Linked DNA regions of Homo sapiens: all the other regions are linked to region 1. The links are contacts of gene promoters, found by promoter capture Hi-C in blood cells and fetal thymus (Javierre and others, 2016). All regions are on one chromosome and are shown on one strand. Each heading gives the region's core, a stretch centred on a gene start or on the middle of the fragment in contact. The rest is flanking DNA. Distances are from core to core; before and after follow the strand shown. Region 1 holds the start of NETO2 (neuropilin and tolloid like 2). Region 2 overlaps LOC105371240 (a long non-coding RNA gene). Region 3 overlaps ABCC11 (ATP binding cassette subfamily C member 11). Region 4 overlaps ABCC11 (ATP binding cassette subfamily C member 11).

The links. The method cuts DNA at HindIII sites, captures the fragments that hold promoters and counts their contacts. A CHiCAGO score of 5 or more calls a contact.
Region 2: a contact is called between a fragment that was not itself captured here and the fragment with the promoter of NETO2 in region 1, in 1 of 17 cell types (naive CD8 T cells). The highest score is 5.4, in naive CD8 T cells.
Region 3: a fragment that was not itself captured here is called in contact with the fragment with the promoter of NETO2 in region 1 in 1 of 17 cell types (naive B cells); the score reaches 5.5 in naive B cells.
Region 4: a contact is called between a fragment that was not itself captured here and the fragment with the promoter of NETO2 in region 1, in 11 of 17 cell types (naive CD8 T cells, megakaryocytes, naive B cells and 8 more). The highest score is 10.6, in naive CD8 T cells.

What each region holds. Positions count from the first base shown.
Region 1 is chr16:47,142,100-47,145,484 of GRCh38, forward strand. NETO2 (neuropilin and tolloid like 2) reads right to left here and starts at 1,846. Exons shown (of 9, transcript NM_018092.5): 1 at 1,480-1,846. The coding sequence starts at 1,513. It overlaps ITFG1-AS1 (ITFG1 antisense RNA 1), which reads left to right and starts at 1,969. Exons shown (of 4, transcript NR_110904.1): 1 at 1,969-2,395. RefSeq lists silencers at 827-976, 1,147-1,986, 2,047-2,376. The HindIII fragment of the contact is 8,905 bases long and covers 1-3,385 here.
Region 2 is chr16:48,631,805-48,635,189 of GRCh38, forward strand. All of the region lies in intron 1 of LOC105371240 (a long non-coding RNA gene), which reads left to right. Among named protein-coding and RNA genes, the nearest start is that of N4BP1, 23 kb to the left of the region's middle. The HindIII fragment of the contact is 5,727 bases long and covers 1-3,385 here.
Region 3 is chr16:48,189,496-48,192,880 of GRCh38, forward strand. ABCC11 (ATP binding cassette subfamily C member 11) reads right to left here. Exons shown (of 30, transcript NM_001370497.1): 20 at 3,025-3,222. Among named protein-coding and RNA genes, the nearest start is that of ABCC12, 35 kb to the left of the region's middle. The HindIII fragment of the contact is 3,166 bases long and covers 317-3,385 here.
Region 4 is chr16:48,172,193-48,175,577 of GRCh38, forward strand. ABCC11 (ATP binding cassette subfamily C member 11) reads right to left here. Exons shown (of 30, transcript NM_001370497.1): 26 at 3,066-3,225. Among named protein-coding and RNA genes, the nearest start is that of ABCC12, 18 kb to the left of the region's middle. The HindIII fragment of the contact is 1,645 bases long and covers 680-2,324 here.

The sequences.
Region 1 (3,385 bases), core at 596-3,095:
TAAGCAACACGATCAGAAATCCTAGTGTGCATACGGTTTATCACGAAAGAGTAAAAACATTCCTTTCCCAGGAATGACTGTAAAAATTAGGAGTTAGAGATATGAAAGCCACAGGATGAATTTCAGAGTTGTTTTCAATTGTAATAAAGAAATCACTACGGATTTACGGTTTGTGAAATATTCATCAGCTAGAAAGTCCTAGGTTACCTTAGTACAAGCTGTAGATACGTTTACAGTGGGGTAGTTAAACGTTTCGAATTACTGAAATCTCAATTACGAATTTAGGAATATGTGGAGAGTAGACAATGTGTCCAATTAAAATCAAAAGCAAAATTACACTGAACTTTCTAATAAAACAAATTTGAAAAAAGTGCTGTTAGGGAGCAGGAAAAAAGTCACTCTACAAATATTAAGATACAGTGCTGAGTTATACATAACACCGTTAATAATGCCTCAGCCGTACCCTCGAAATTTTTAAAAAAAGAACATGTTACGACATTACAAACACGTCAGCTTTCAATTTAAATCAGCAGGGGGAAAAAGGGAAGTCCTTTACTGAGTGGTGGTGCTGTTTTCCCTCTGGAAATTGAAAAGACGATTTATTCAGTCCGAGTTTCAGGAGCAACTTTGTATCCCAATCCTAATTATCTATGTATATAAATTTTCATCTAAATTACCACCTCCTGGGAAATGCAAAGCCGGTGGAGTAGGTTTTAGAGCTCTGTGCTCTGGACAAGCCAACTGTTTTAATTCCCAGTACAACAAATTAGTAAGAACCGAACACCAGCGGCGGGGAATTCTGAGACCTCTGGCGGAGCGCGAGGAGCGCCGCGTCCCGGGAAGCACCCGAGCAGCAGCGCTCCCCGGGGGCCGGGACAAGCCGGGTCCGCGGCGCCCGCGCGCCGCCCCCGGAGCCCGCAGTGGTGCCGCAGCCTCCGTGGCCGCAGCAGGTGGGACCCGGCTGGCCCAGCAGGCCCCGTTCCCCGCCGCGAGGTGCAGGCGCCGCGGGGCTATTCGAAAACCACTGCACGACGTCACGGCCGCGGCTTTTATTGTTCTCGTGGAATTACTTTTTGCCATCACATCTGGAGAAAGAGCGGCCTCCGCTCCACGACAGGAATCTCACAACTTTGCAAAGGGATGCGCGGAATTCTACGGAAGCGGCGCGAGGGCGCAGCCCGGAGGGCCCTGCTGGGCCCAGGGGCCTCCTGGCCGCCTTCCCGACCCGATCCCTCTTCCCACACGCGCCCCGCGAACGTCGGCCGGACTCGCAGGGGTCGGAAGCGGCGCGCCCGGAGAGCCGGCGGAGCCGGGCAGGGCTCGCGCCCCGCGGTCCGCTCCGAGTAGCCGCGAGCCCCGCCAGACAAAGAGGCGCGTCGGGTCCCGGGCGCGGGTAAGGGACGCAGAGGCGCGGGCAGGGCGGCGCGCCAGCCTCGGCCCGCAGGGGGCGCCGTCCGTGGCCCCAGCCCCGGTCCTTACCTTTGAGGACCGAGCAGAGCCGCTCCAGGGCCATGTTCCCGAGCTGCCCGGCGCTTCGCGAAGGGCTGAGGTAGCGGCGGCGGTGGCTCGGCGCTCACGGCTCGGCGCGGCGGCGACGGCCCCACTCCGTCCCCATCGCCGGCCAGCAGCTGCCTCCCCGCTCCCCTGAGGAGAGCTCAGGTCCTGCGGCCCGCCATGCCCGAGCCCCACAGTGGGCTCCCGCGCGGCCCGAGCACCCCGACGGGCGCCGCCTCCTGCTCCGCGGCGCCCCGTCCCATCGACCGCCCGAGGGCCGAGGAGTGCGGACGCGCGGCGCGGGACCGGCAGGCAGCTCCGCCCGCGGCCCCGGCGCGGGATCCACTGAAGTGGCGGGCGCGGGGCGCCCAGGCTCATTTAAGGAGGGAGCGCGAGCGCCGCGTGCCGGCTGCGCCGCCTGTGCGCATGTGCCCGCCCCGCCCCGCCCCGCGCCGCGCCTCGCGCGCCCGCCGCGGCCTCGCGCCGTGGGACGGCGTCGCTCCCCGCCGGCTGCCGTTAGGGCTGGGAGCCGGCTGGGCGCGGGGGTAGTGAGGGTGCCTCTCGCCGTGGCTGCGCGGCGGCCTCGTCCGAGAGGCCGGCGCCGGGGCAGTGACCGGCCCGTGCCCAGCCGCCGCGCAGGGCGCCCGGGGCAGCTGGCCGAGCCCTCGATGCCTCCCGTCTGACGGAGGCGCCCGGGAAGCGCCGCCCACCTCGGCCCCGCACCCTCGCCGGCCTGCCGGGTCTCCGCCAGCCCTAGCAGACAGAGAGGGGCGCCGGTCCCTAGTCCCCCAGACCTCCATTCAAGGTCAAAACTTTGCCCAGCTCAGCCTTGCTCGACCCTGGGCAGGGAAGCGCGGACATCGGCAGAGGGAGCCCGAGGCTCTCCGTGCCCTTCGCGCCGGTGAGTTCCCGACCCGCGGCGCTGCCGGCGTTTCCCTAGCGCCCGCCAGGTTGACAGGCACTTTAGTACCAACTCCTCAGACTCCCCCTCATGAAGTAGGTTTTAGGGGATTGGAAAGTCGAGGCCAGAGAGGTGAAGCCCTTCGTCCAGAGCCGCGTAGCGAATGAGCGGCAGGGCTGTGCACCTCCCCCGGGGCTGCCCTCCTAGCAGCTAACCACTACGCTGGGCAGCTTCGCCAGCTGATGGGAGTCTCCAGGTCTGCCAACAACTGCCTGGCTGTTGGTGGTATTCATGATCCTGCTTTATTTTCTCCACAGCGGTTATCACACTGATATGACCTTCCTCATTTATTTATTTGTTCATCCTTTATATCTCCCTCACCCTCACACCATTAAAATATCAGCTGCTTGCAGGCAGGCCGACTGCATTCATTTTTTTCACTCCACACATACGTATTGGGTGTTAATTATGTGCAGAAGACAATGATTGGTGCTGGAGATAACAACCGTGATCAAGGCCTTACCATAATAGAATATTTATGCCTGTCTCTGCGTGTAGTAGGAACTCTGTAAACGTTTGTCTAACCAATTGTAGCTAAAGACAATGTCAGGCAACTGAAACATTTTTCAGGTGTTAAGCTCTTCTCTCTCACTTTGTATTCCTTCAAGAAAGGTACAAAAGCATAAATAATTCATGAGATTTACAAAGGAAAAACATACTTAACACCAATTAATATCGAGGTGTTTCACCCTTTGCCATGTGCTGTGAATGGGGGCATAAAAGATGGGTAAGTTTGGGTTCCTAAAGGTAACCACCTACTACAGTTAAGATCGCACACGAGAACCAATTAGGAAATAAAACATTTAAGAACTTTTTCCCACGGATATGAAAAGGTGGCTCACGCATGTAATCCCAGAACTTTGGGAGGCTGAGGCAGGCGGGTCACCCGAGGTCAGAGGTTTAAGACCAGCCTGGCCGACATGGTGAAAC
Region 2 (3,385 bases), core at 362-2,861, 1.5 Mb after region 1:
GAATCTATGGAAAACAGACAATTGGAATTGAAATTGTATAGCAGTGGGAAAGGCAAGGTAGTGTCTGATATTCTTAGCAAATAGAAGGGTAAAAAGATGCGATTTTCCCTGATACCTCAAACCAACTGCACTTGAATTAACATAGAAACAGAAAACCAAATACCCCATGTTCTTACTTATAAGTGGGAGCAAAATATTGGGTATTGGGACACAAAGATGGAAACAATAGACACTGGGGACTCCTAGAGGGTAGAGGAAGAGAGCTGCAGGGGTTGGAAAACTACTTATTGGGTCCTATGCTTGTGACAGAATCAATCGTACCTTAAACTTCGGCATCATGCAATATACCCATGTAACAAACCTGCATGTATATCCTCTGCATCTAAAACAAAAGTTGAAATTAAAAAAGAAAAGAAGAGACGTGGCTGGGCAAGGTGGGTCACACCCATAATCCCAGTACTTTGGGTGGGCACCTGTAATCTCAGCTACTCAGGAGGCTGAGGCAGGAGAATCGCTGGAACCTGGGAGGTGGAGGTTGTAGTGATCTGAGATCACGCCACTGCATTCCAGCCTGAGGAACAAGAGTGAAACTCCATCTCAAAAAAAAAAAAAAAAAAGAAGAGACGTGGTTGTGCTAGGTTAATAATAAACCCTAAACTCTCAGCAGTTCAAAAGAACAGAGTGTCTTTCTCACCCCATGCTGTGTGTCCACTGCAGGTCCACCAGGGGCTCTGCTTGTCTTAGTCACTCAGGGGCCTTGTGTGACAGAGACTCCATCTCAACAAGTGCTTCTGTGACCCAGCAGGCAGTAAAAAGAGGATGGAGACCACAGACTGACCTGTCTGCTTCTGCCTAAAAGTGACACATGTCATTTTCACTCATACTTCATGGGCCAAAGCAGATCACATGGCCGTGCACGAGCTCAAGTGGGTGGAGAGGTGCAGCCCCACCATGTGCCCAGAAAGAGAGCTGAGCATTTGAGACCTTTCTTTCTTCTTTTCTGCTTTCCCTCTTCCCTTCTTCCTGCTTTCCTTCCCTTCTTATTTACTAAGTGCCTACTATTTAGATGATGTATCCTCACTGGGATTATCATTTGTTATTTAAAAAATTTAAATAATAAATTTAATTTGTTTTGTTATTTATTATTTACTTTTTTTTTTTTTCTGAGATGGGGTCTTGCTCTGTCACCCAAGCCAGAGTGCAGTGGCACGATCTCAGCTCACTGCAACCTCCGCCTCCCAGGTCCAAGCGATTCTCCAGCCTCAGCCTCCTGAGTAGCTGGGGTTACAGGCATGCGCCACCGTGCCAAGCTAATTTTTGTATTTTCAGTAGAGATGGGGTTTTGCCATGCTGGCCAAGCTGGTCTCAAACTCCTGAGCTCAGGTGATCCACCCACCTTGGCCTCCCAAAGTCCTGGGATTACCGATGTGAACCACTGTGCCTGGCCTGTTTTTATTTTCTAAAGATGGGGTCTTGCTCTGTTGCCCAACCTAGAGTGTAGTGGCTATTCACAGATATTATCATAGCTCACTGCATAGCTCACTGCAGAACCTGGGTTTACTGATGCACACCACTGCACCCAGCCTCACTGGGATTATAAAATAAGACAAAACTCCGTCCTCAAGGCTCACATGATCTCATGGCCGAGTCAGAAAAGCCGACCAAGATCAGCACAAGTTGATATGTGAACACAGATATGAGGCAGCTCACCCAGCCTGGTGTGAAGCTAAGGAAGGCTTCCTGGAGGACGTCCCCAAGGAAGGTAGGAACAAGCCTGATGAGAGGCAGGGGAACCTGAATAGCACAGCTCATGCCTGTAATCTTAGCTACCAAGAAGGCAGAGGCGGGAGGATATCTGGAATCCAGGTGTTCAAGACCAGCCCAGGCAACATAGCAAGACTCTTAAAAAAAAAAGACGCAGGGAGATCATTTTCAGCAGAAAGAGCAGAAGATGAAAATGTCTGCAGGAGAGCTCTGTGGCCAGCAGTAAGATGTTCTGCAGGCCTGAGGAATGTTGTGGGGGATGGTGTGAGGATGAGCAGGCACAGCAGGAAGTGGGTCCAGACCACTTAAGGCTTCAGGACCACTGGAGACTGGATTTCCTGAGAAGGCCATGGGGGCCATAGAGAGGCTGGTTAAATTTATTTTATTTTTTCCAATTTAGCCTTGACTTGAAACTCATAAATTTGTTTTCTCTGAGACAGGGTCTCACTATGTTGCCCAGGCTGAACTCAAACTCCTGGGCTTGAGCCATCCTCCTGCCTCAGTCTCCCGGGGTACTACAGGTGTAAGCCACCATGCCCGCCTGCCATAGAAAGGTTTTAAGCAGGACATTAACACTGTGAGGTCCTCTCTCTGTAGGGTGGGTTGGAGGGGAAAGGATTGAGAACAGAGAGACAGCACTTTGAGAGGCTGAGGCAGGTGGATCGCTTGAGGTCAGAAGTTCAAGAACAGCCTGGCCAACATGGTGAGATCCCGTCTCTACTAAAAATACAAAAATTAGCTGGGCGTGGTGGTGTGTGCCTGTAATCCCAGCTATTCAGGAGGCTGAGGCAGGAGAATTACTTGAACCTGGGAGGCGGAGGTTGCAGTGAGCCGAGATGGCACCACTGCATTCCAGCCTGTGCAACAAGAGTGAAACTCCATCTCAAAAAAAAAAAAAAAAAAAAGAAAGGAAAGATAGGATGCTGATGTCATAGCTAGAGGGAGATGACAGAGCCTCAAATGCAGGCAATGTTTGGGGACATAGAGAGGATAAAATTGATCAGAGAGGTGATATGCAGAGGCAGCCTATAGGACTTGGTTTTTATGGAAAGTGGGAGTAACGCTGAACCTTAAGAATGTCTGGGTTTCAAATGGCATGGAATGGCTGAGGTGTATTATTCATTCAGGATACTTATTAATGTCTATCATGGGTTCTTTCTGGGTGCTTGGAATACATCAGTGTTAAAAGAGACCAAAAAAAAAAAAAAGAAGACAATTCCCTGCCCTCGTGATCGTGAGGTTGATATTCCAGTGGGGGAGCAGGCAATAAATACCAAATCTAAATATGTACATTTTACAATATTAAAAAGTAGACCACATTGGGGGAAAGGCAGGGAAAGGATGGTCGGGAGAGTTGGGAAGGGAGGGGTGTCGATATTTTAAGTAGGGCAGTTAGAAAAGATCTCATTGAGGTTGGGCTGAGTGGCTCACACCTGTAATTCCAGCACTTTGGGTGGTCAAGACAGGAGGATTGCTTGAGCCTAGGAGTTCAAAACCAGCCTGGGCAACATAGTGAGATATCGTCTCTACAAATAAAAAAATTAGCCAGGTGTGGTGGTGCACACCTGTGGTCCCAGATATTCAGGAGGCTGAGGAGGAAGGATCATTTGAGCCCAGGAGT
Region 3 (3,385 bases), core at 650-3,149, 1.0 Mb after region 1:
TTTAAAACTACAAAGACAAATTTAAAGTTTAAAAAGCCATGAAAGGACTGGAAAAAGGAAAATATTTTAAACACAAAACACGTTTTCATGGAAAGAAACTTGAACATTTCTCAAAATTAAAATACGAAATGTCATTTAGAGGCATGGGCACTGGATATTTCTAGAATCTTGGAATGTGCCATCAAAAGAAACTCAGAGACCACCTTGAGGGCCGAGGGCCACCCCCAGAGGCCGGGTGGGAAAGTGTCAGGCCTCAGGTAGAATTTCCCCCTCCTGCTTTCTGGTTCTGCCAAGCTTTATCTGAGAGGTGGGGAAAAGCTTTGTCTCACCCTGCCAAAGTTGAAACACTTCATGGCAACACAATTTGCATTCAGTCTACAAGGAACGATGGGCCGCTCCTCACCTCCTGCGTCTCCAAGTCAAAACCCCCACTCCCACCTCTGAGATTAGCCTTCCAGAGCTCCATTCTCCTCCCAGAAGTGCTCTGCTTTTGTTCACCTTCAGTCTCCTGGTCTTGAGCTGGCTAAATCTGATTCCTCCTTCAAGGAGTGAAGTCCCCAAGAAGGCTTTCTGGACTCTCCCCACTTTCTTCCCCTGCCCTCAAGCTAAGACAAGGTGCCTCTTATGTTCTCATGGCCCTGTGTGCTCCATCCCGTGATAAACTTTACATATCTACGACAATGGCCTGTTTTCTTGTCCATCTCCCCCATTAGACTATACATCCATGATGGCCCAAACCCTACCTGCACTGTGCATTCTCTAATGTAAGCCTCATGCCCACTGCAGAACCTGGCACATAGTAACACTTAGTAAGTGAGAGAGAGGAATGACATTTCCAAGAAGCAGTGTGATACCATAAGCAATTTGGTTTTTTTTTTTTTAAATGAGATAGGGTCTCACTGTCTCCCAGGCTGGAGTGCAGTGGCATGATCTCAGCTCACTGCCACCTCCACCTCCCTGGCTCAAGCGATCCTCCTTGATCCTCAGTCCCCCAAGTAGCTGGGACTACAGGCACAAGCCCCCATGTCCGGCTAATTTTTATATCTTTGGTAGAGACAAGATTTTGCCTTGTTGCCCAGGCTGGTCTCGAACTCCTGAGCTCAAGCAATCCACTCACCTCAGGCCTCCCAAAATGCTGGGATTCCAGGCGTGAGCTACTGCACCCAGCTGACAATTCAGTATTCTAACCAAACACATATTCCAACTTTAACATATGTGAGATTTCAGTTTCCTCATATGTAAAATGAGGATAATATCCACTTCAAAGAGAACTCAGGGCAATCATAAGCAACTCTGTATATGACCATGCTCAGCCAGTGGAGGCCAGCGTCACTGTGGCCCTCCATCAGGGGACACTGAGCTCTTAGAACCAGACTTCCAGCAGGAGAGCTCCACCGCACTTTCATCACTCCCTTCTCACCAAGCAGCCTGGTTCACCCAGCTGCAACTACATTTTAGAAAAGGCAAAGCTATGAAGAGAGTAAAAAAGATCAGTGGTTGCTGGGAGTTTGAGGGTAGGGAGGGAGGGATGAATAGGTGGGACACAGGGTTTTGTTTATGGCGGCGGAACTATTCTGTACCATGGATACATGTCATTATACATTTTTCAAAACCCATAGAATGCACAGCACAAAGAATGCACCATAAGGTGAACTATGGATATTCATTAATAATAGTAATTAATAATGTACCAATATTGACTCATCAATTGTAACAAATGTCCCACGTTAATGCAAGATGTTAAGAATAAGAGAAATGGGCCAGGTGCAGTGACTCACAACTGTAATCCCAGCACTTTAGGAGGCTGAGATGGGCAGATGGCTTGAGCCCAGGAGTTCAAGACCAGCCTGCGCAACATGGCAAGACCTGTCTCCACAAAAATACAAAAATTAGCCAGGCATGGTGGTGTGCCCCTGTGGTCCCAGCTACTCGGAGGTTAAGGTAGGGAGGACTGCTTCAGCCCAGGAGGTCGAGACTGCAGTAAGCTGTGATCACACCACTGCACTCCAGCCTGAGTGATAGGCAGGTATATGAGAACTCTCTGTACTTTCATCTCAATTTTTCTGTAAACGAAAAGTGCTCAAAAAATAAAGTTGGCTTGGTTTCAAGTCTTTGCTATTGTGAATAGTGCCACAATAAACATACGTGTGCATACATGTGCATTTATCTTTACAGCAGCATGATTTATAATCCTGAAGCTGGAAACCATCATTCTCAGAAAATTATTGCAAGGACAAAAAACCAAACACCACATGTTCTCACTCATAGGTGGGAAATGAACAATGAGAACACAAGGACACAGGAAGGGGAACATCACACACTGGGGCCTGTTGTGGGGTTGGGGGACGGGGGAGGGATAGCATTAGGAGATATACCTAATGTTAAATGACGAGTTACTGGGTGCAGCACACCAACATGGCACATGTATACATATGTAACTAACCTGCATGTGCACATGTACCCTAAAACTTAAAATATAATAAAAAATAATAATAAAATAAAGTTGGCCGGGCATGGTGGCTCACACCTGTAATTCTAGCTACTTAGGAGGCCAATGTGGGAGGATTGCATTAGCCCAGGATTTTGAGACTAGCCTGGGCAAACAGAGCAAGACCCCATCTCTACAGATAAATAAATAATTAAGGTCTACTAATAAAAAAAAAATAGGCCGGGGGTGGTGGCTCATGCCTGTAATCCCAGCACTTTGGGGGGCCGAGGTGGATGGATCACTGGAACCCAGGAGTTTGAGACCACCTTGGGCAACGTGGTGAAACCCAGTCTCTACAAAAAATACAAAAATTAGTCAGATCTAGTGGCATGTGCCTGTACTCCCAGCTACTTGGGAGGCTGAGGCAGGAGGATCACTTCAGCCTGGAAGGTGGAGGTTGCCATGAGTGGAGATTGTGCCACTGCACTCCAGCCTGGGCTACAGAGCTCTAAAAAATAAAAAAATAAAAAAATAAAAATGAAGCTGGGCAAGTTCAGAGCTCAGCCTTCGGCCCCACCCAGCACCCAGGCCCATACCTTGTTGAAGAGCTTGTTGTGCAGGGCCGTGGATGCCTTCCTCGTGACCTTGGTGAAAATCCCTGAGGAGCAGACCCCCACACAGATGAGGAGCAGGGCGTTGAGCCCGTACACCAGCTGGTAGAAGGACAGTTGAGGATTGTCTGCAATGTTGCCCAGGTCTGCCATGGTTCCATTGCTCTCTCGGCTGCTATTGGTCTTCAAGAAAGAACAGGGGGTCTGACTGCAGGTGTCCGGGGGAAATTCAGTGGCAGGGAAAGCCTTCTCCCTGGGGCCACGTGAGAATCTGTGGCTGGTAGAAGGTGAAGCTGTTTGCCCAAACCTCCCTGCTCAGCGCTTGGCTACTCTCTTTTGCCCTTCA
Region 4 (3,385 bases), core at 252-2,751, 1.0 Mb after region 1:
TAACATTTCCCTTCTTTTTAGAGCTGCATAATATTCCATTGTATGTATATACCACATTTTGTTTTTCCATTCATCTGTTTATAGACGTATGACTTGTTTCCACCTTTTGATTACTGTGAGTAGGGCTGCTCTAAACACTAGTGTACACATATGGGTTGAAGTCTCTGCTTTCAACACTTTGGGATATATAACTAGAAGTGAAATTCCTGGATTACATGGTAATTCTATGTTTAACTTTTTTTTTTTTTTTTTTGAGACAGGGTCTCACTCTGTCTACGAGGCTGGAGTGCAGTGGTGCAAACACAGCTCACTACAGCGTTGACCTCTTGGGCTCAAGCAAGCCTCCCACCTCAGTCTCCTGAGTAGCTGGAATTGCAAGCACAGACCACCATGCCCAGCTAATTTTTGTTTACCTTTTTGAGGAATTGCCAAATTGTTTTCCATGGTCTCTGCACAATTTTACATCCCCACTGGCAATGCATGAGAGTTTCAATTTTTTCACATCCTTGTTAATAATACTTGCTATTTACCTTTTATTATTGTTATAGCCATTCTAGTAGGTGTGAAGTGGTAGCTCATTGTTGGGGGGCTGGACTTTCTGTTTCTTGCAGTGAAAAGAATCCTAACATCCAGGTAACTGACATGAGAGAGGGAATCTATCTGGACTTTACACCCAGCAAGCTTTACACTTGCATCTGGAACAGGCAGCACTATAGACACTTCCCTGCTATGCAGCCATGTAGCCCTGAGTGAAACCTGTCAACCTTGCTTTATCCTTCCCCAGTTGTGCCAGCCACGCATATCTTGTGTGTAGGGCTAATGTGTACTAAAGAAGAGGCAGGTCTTATTTGCATGACATTTGATATCTCCAAAGCACTTTCATAGATGGGTTATTTGACATTTTCTCCTCCATGAGATGGGTATACTCCTTTCTTATCAGTTTTAAATGGCTTGTTCAAGGTCACGCCACAAGCCAGTATGAGAGCCAGGCTGGCATCAAGACATTCAGAGAGATGCTTAAGGGTAGAGCCTTAAGTTCTAAGGTAGGATTTCAAGTCCACATTTCTTTCTACAGAAAGAGGTGGGGGGAAATATCACAAATTATGGGTTTAGAACACCTAGGGTTATATCTCATGTTCGCCATTTCTTTGTGTGTCTTTAAACAAGTCCCCTTCCTCTCTAAGTTCCGTGCCTTCATCTGTAAAATGGGGATAATGAAGGGGCCTCACAGTGTTGCTGGGAGAGTTAAATTAGGCAGTATACTAAAGCATTCAGTTGGCACATATAAATGCTCAATAAATGTTAGTTCATATTTTTACTACTCTTCATATCAACGCACAGGAGATTTGGCCACATTCTACTGTAACATAGAAATCTATCACTAAATGTCTTATCATTCCCCTAACACAACCATTTTTTTGTTGTTTTGTGTGGGGGCGGGGAAGGTTTTGAGACAGAGTTTCCTTCAGTCACCCAGGCTGGAGTGCAGTAGCACGATCTCGGCTCACTGCAACCTCCACCTCCCGGGCTCATGCGATTCACGTGCCTCAGCCTCCCGAGTAGCTGGGATTACAGACATGCACCACCACATCTGGCTAATTTTTGTATTTTTAGCAGAGACAGGGTTTTGTCATGTTGGCCAGGCTGGTCTCAAACTCCTGGCCTCAAGTGATCTCCCTGCCTTGGCCTCCCAAAGTGCTGGGATTACAGGCATGAACTACCATGCCCCACCTCATGACCCAGTCATTTTGAAACCCTGTGTCTGTGCACATATTGTTCCTTCTCCTTGAAAAGAGTTTGTCTCCTATTTCTGCCTGGCAAGCTCCTACTCAGCTTTCAAGACCCTGATCAAATGTCCCCTCCTCTGGGAAGCCTTTCTGGATTCACTCAGGCAGTGACTCATCCCAGTCGTAGCTCCCTTAGCATTTTGTACATATCTCTGATCTAACAATTACCCCTTCATACTGTGATTTATTGGGTCTTACCCCTGTACAAAACCATCTTCCCCACCCACACTGTGAGCTCCTGCTGGGGGAGCAGGGAAAATGTACATTCATTAAACTGGCTCCAGTCCCTAGCACAGTGTCCAGACCAGGCAGAAGCTCAGAAAAGGCAAGTTAAATGAGTGGGAGGATGAATGAAGGAATGAATGAATGAAGCTCTGGGGTTCAGTTTATCCTCCTGGCTCTAAGAATTCTCCTTAAATATCACAAAACATGGGGGGACCTAGCCTGCTTTTTAGTGCATCCATCTTCCTCAGTCCCCATGCCTTGATGTTTCCTCCCAGATAAAGTGCATTGTCAGTAGGAGCCTAATCTGGATAAAGCTTTGTCCCTGAGTTGACTTCTGAGGACACAGAAAGTGTAGTGAAGAGGCTGGAAGATCTGGTTCTGTCTGCTTCACTGACTGGGCTGCCTGGATTTTTCTCACATCACTCCTGTCCAGAATGTGTACCATTGAAGAAGCACTTCCTAAAAACGTCCCCAGGGGCTTTGCCCAGTGCACAGAGAGAATAAGCTACATCTGGACAAGAAAGAATATGGTAGCCTGAGTGCAAATGCTTAATGGTGTAGTGAAATCTGACCAATCCCATCAGGGTTTTGTTTCTGTTTTTTGTTTGTTTGCTTGTTTGTTTGTTTGTTTTTTAATAAGAGTCAGGGTCTTGTTGTGTTGCCCAGGTTGGAGCACAGTGGCTATTCACAGGCACAGTCATAGTGTACTACAGCCCTGAGCTCCTGGGCTCAAGTGATCCTCCTGCCTCAGCCTCCCAAATAGCTCGGACTACGGCTGTGCACCACCATGCCATCCAGTTTCTAAAAAATAAAAATATGTTTTGTTTTTGCGTATAACATTACGGTTTACAAAGTGCTCTTATATATATTGAGGCCTCATTTAATCCTCAACAGTACTTCAGTGAGGTAAGCCAGGTAGGCATGAGTGGCCCAGCAGGCCAAGGAGGCCTGGAAATCGGGGCATTGGTCACCAGCTCACTATAGGCAGCCCGGTGCTGGAATCCTGGTCCTGTGACCCACCTCCTGCAGGCTGCCTGCTGGCCCGGCACTCACCTGATGGTTCCTGAGAGCAGCACTGGATCTTGAGGGATCACTGAGAGCTTGGACCGCAAGTCCTCCAGGCCGATGCTGCAAATGTCCACGCCGTCAATGAGAATCCGGCCTGCCATGGGCTCCACCAGGCGGAAGAGAGCCATGCCCAAGGAGGACTTCCCTGTGGGGCAAGAAACAAGCGGGGCCTCAGTTTCCTGCATCTGCACTAGCGGAAGCACAGATCGCACCTGGCGATCACACCTGACCCGCTGCCCTCCGTGGCCCATTCTTCATCACTGTGAGCCCTGAAGGGGTAGGAGAGGGCTGGCGTCCCTGCTCCA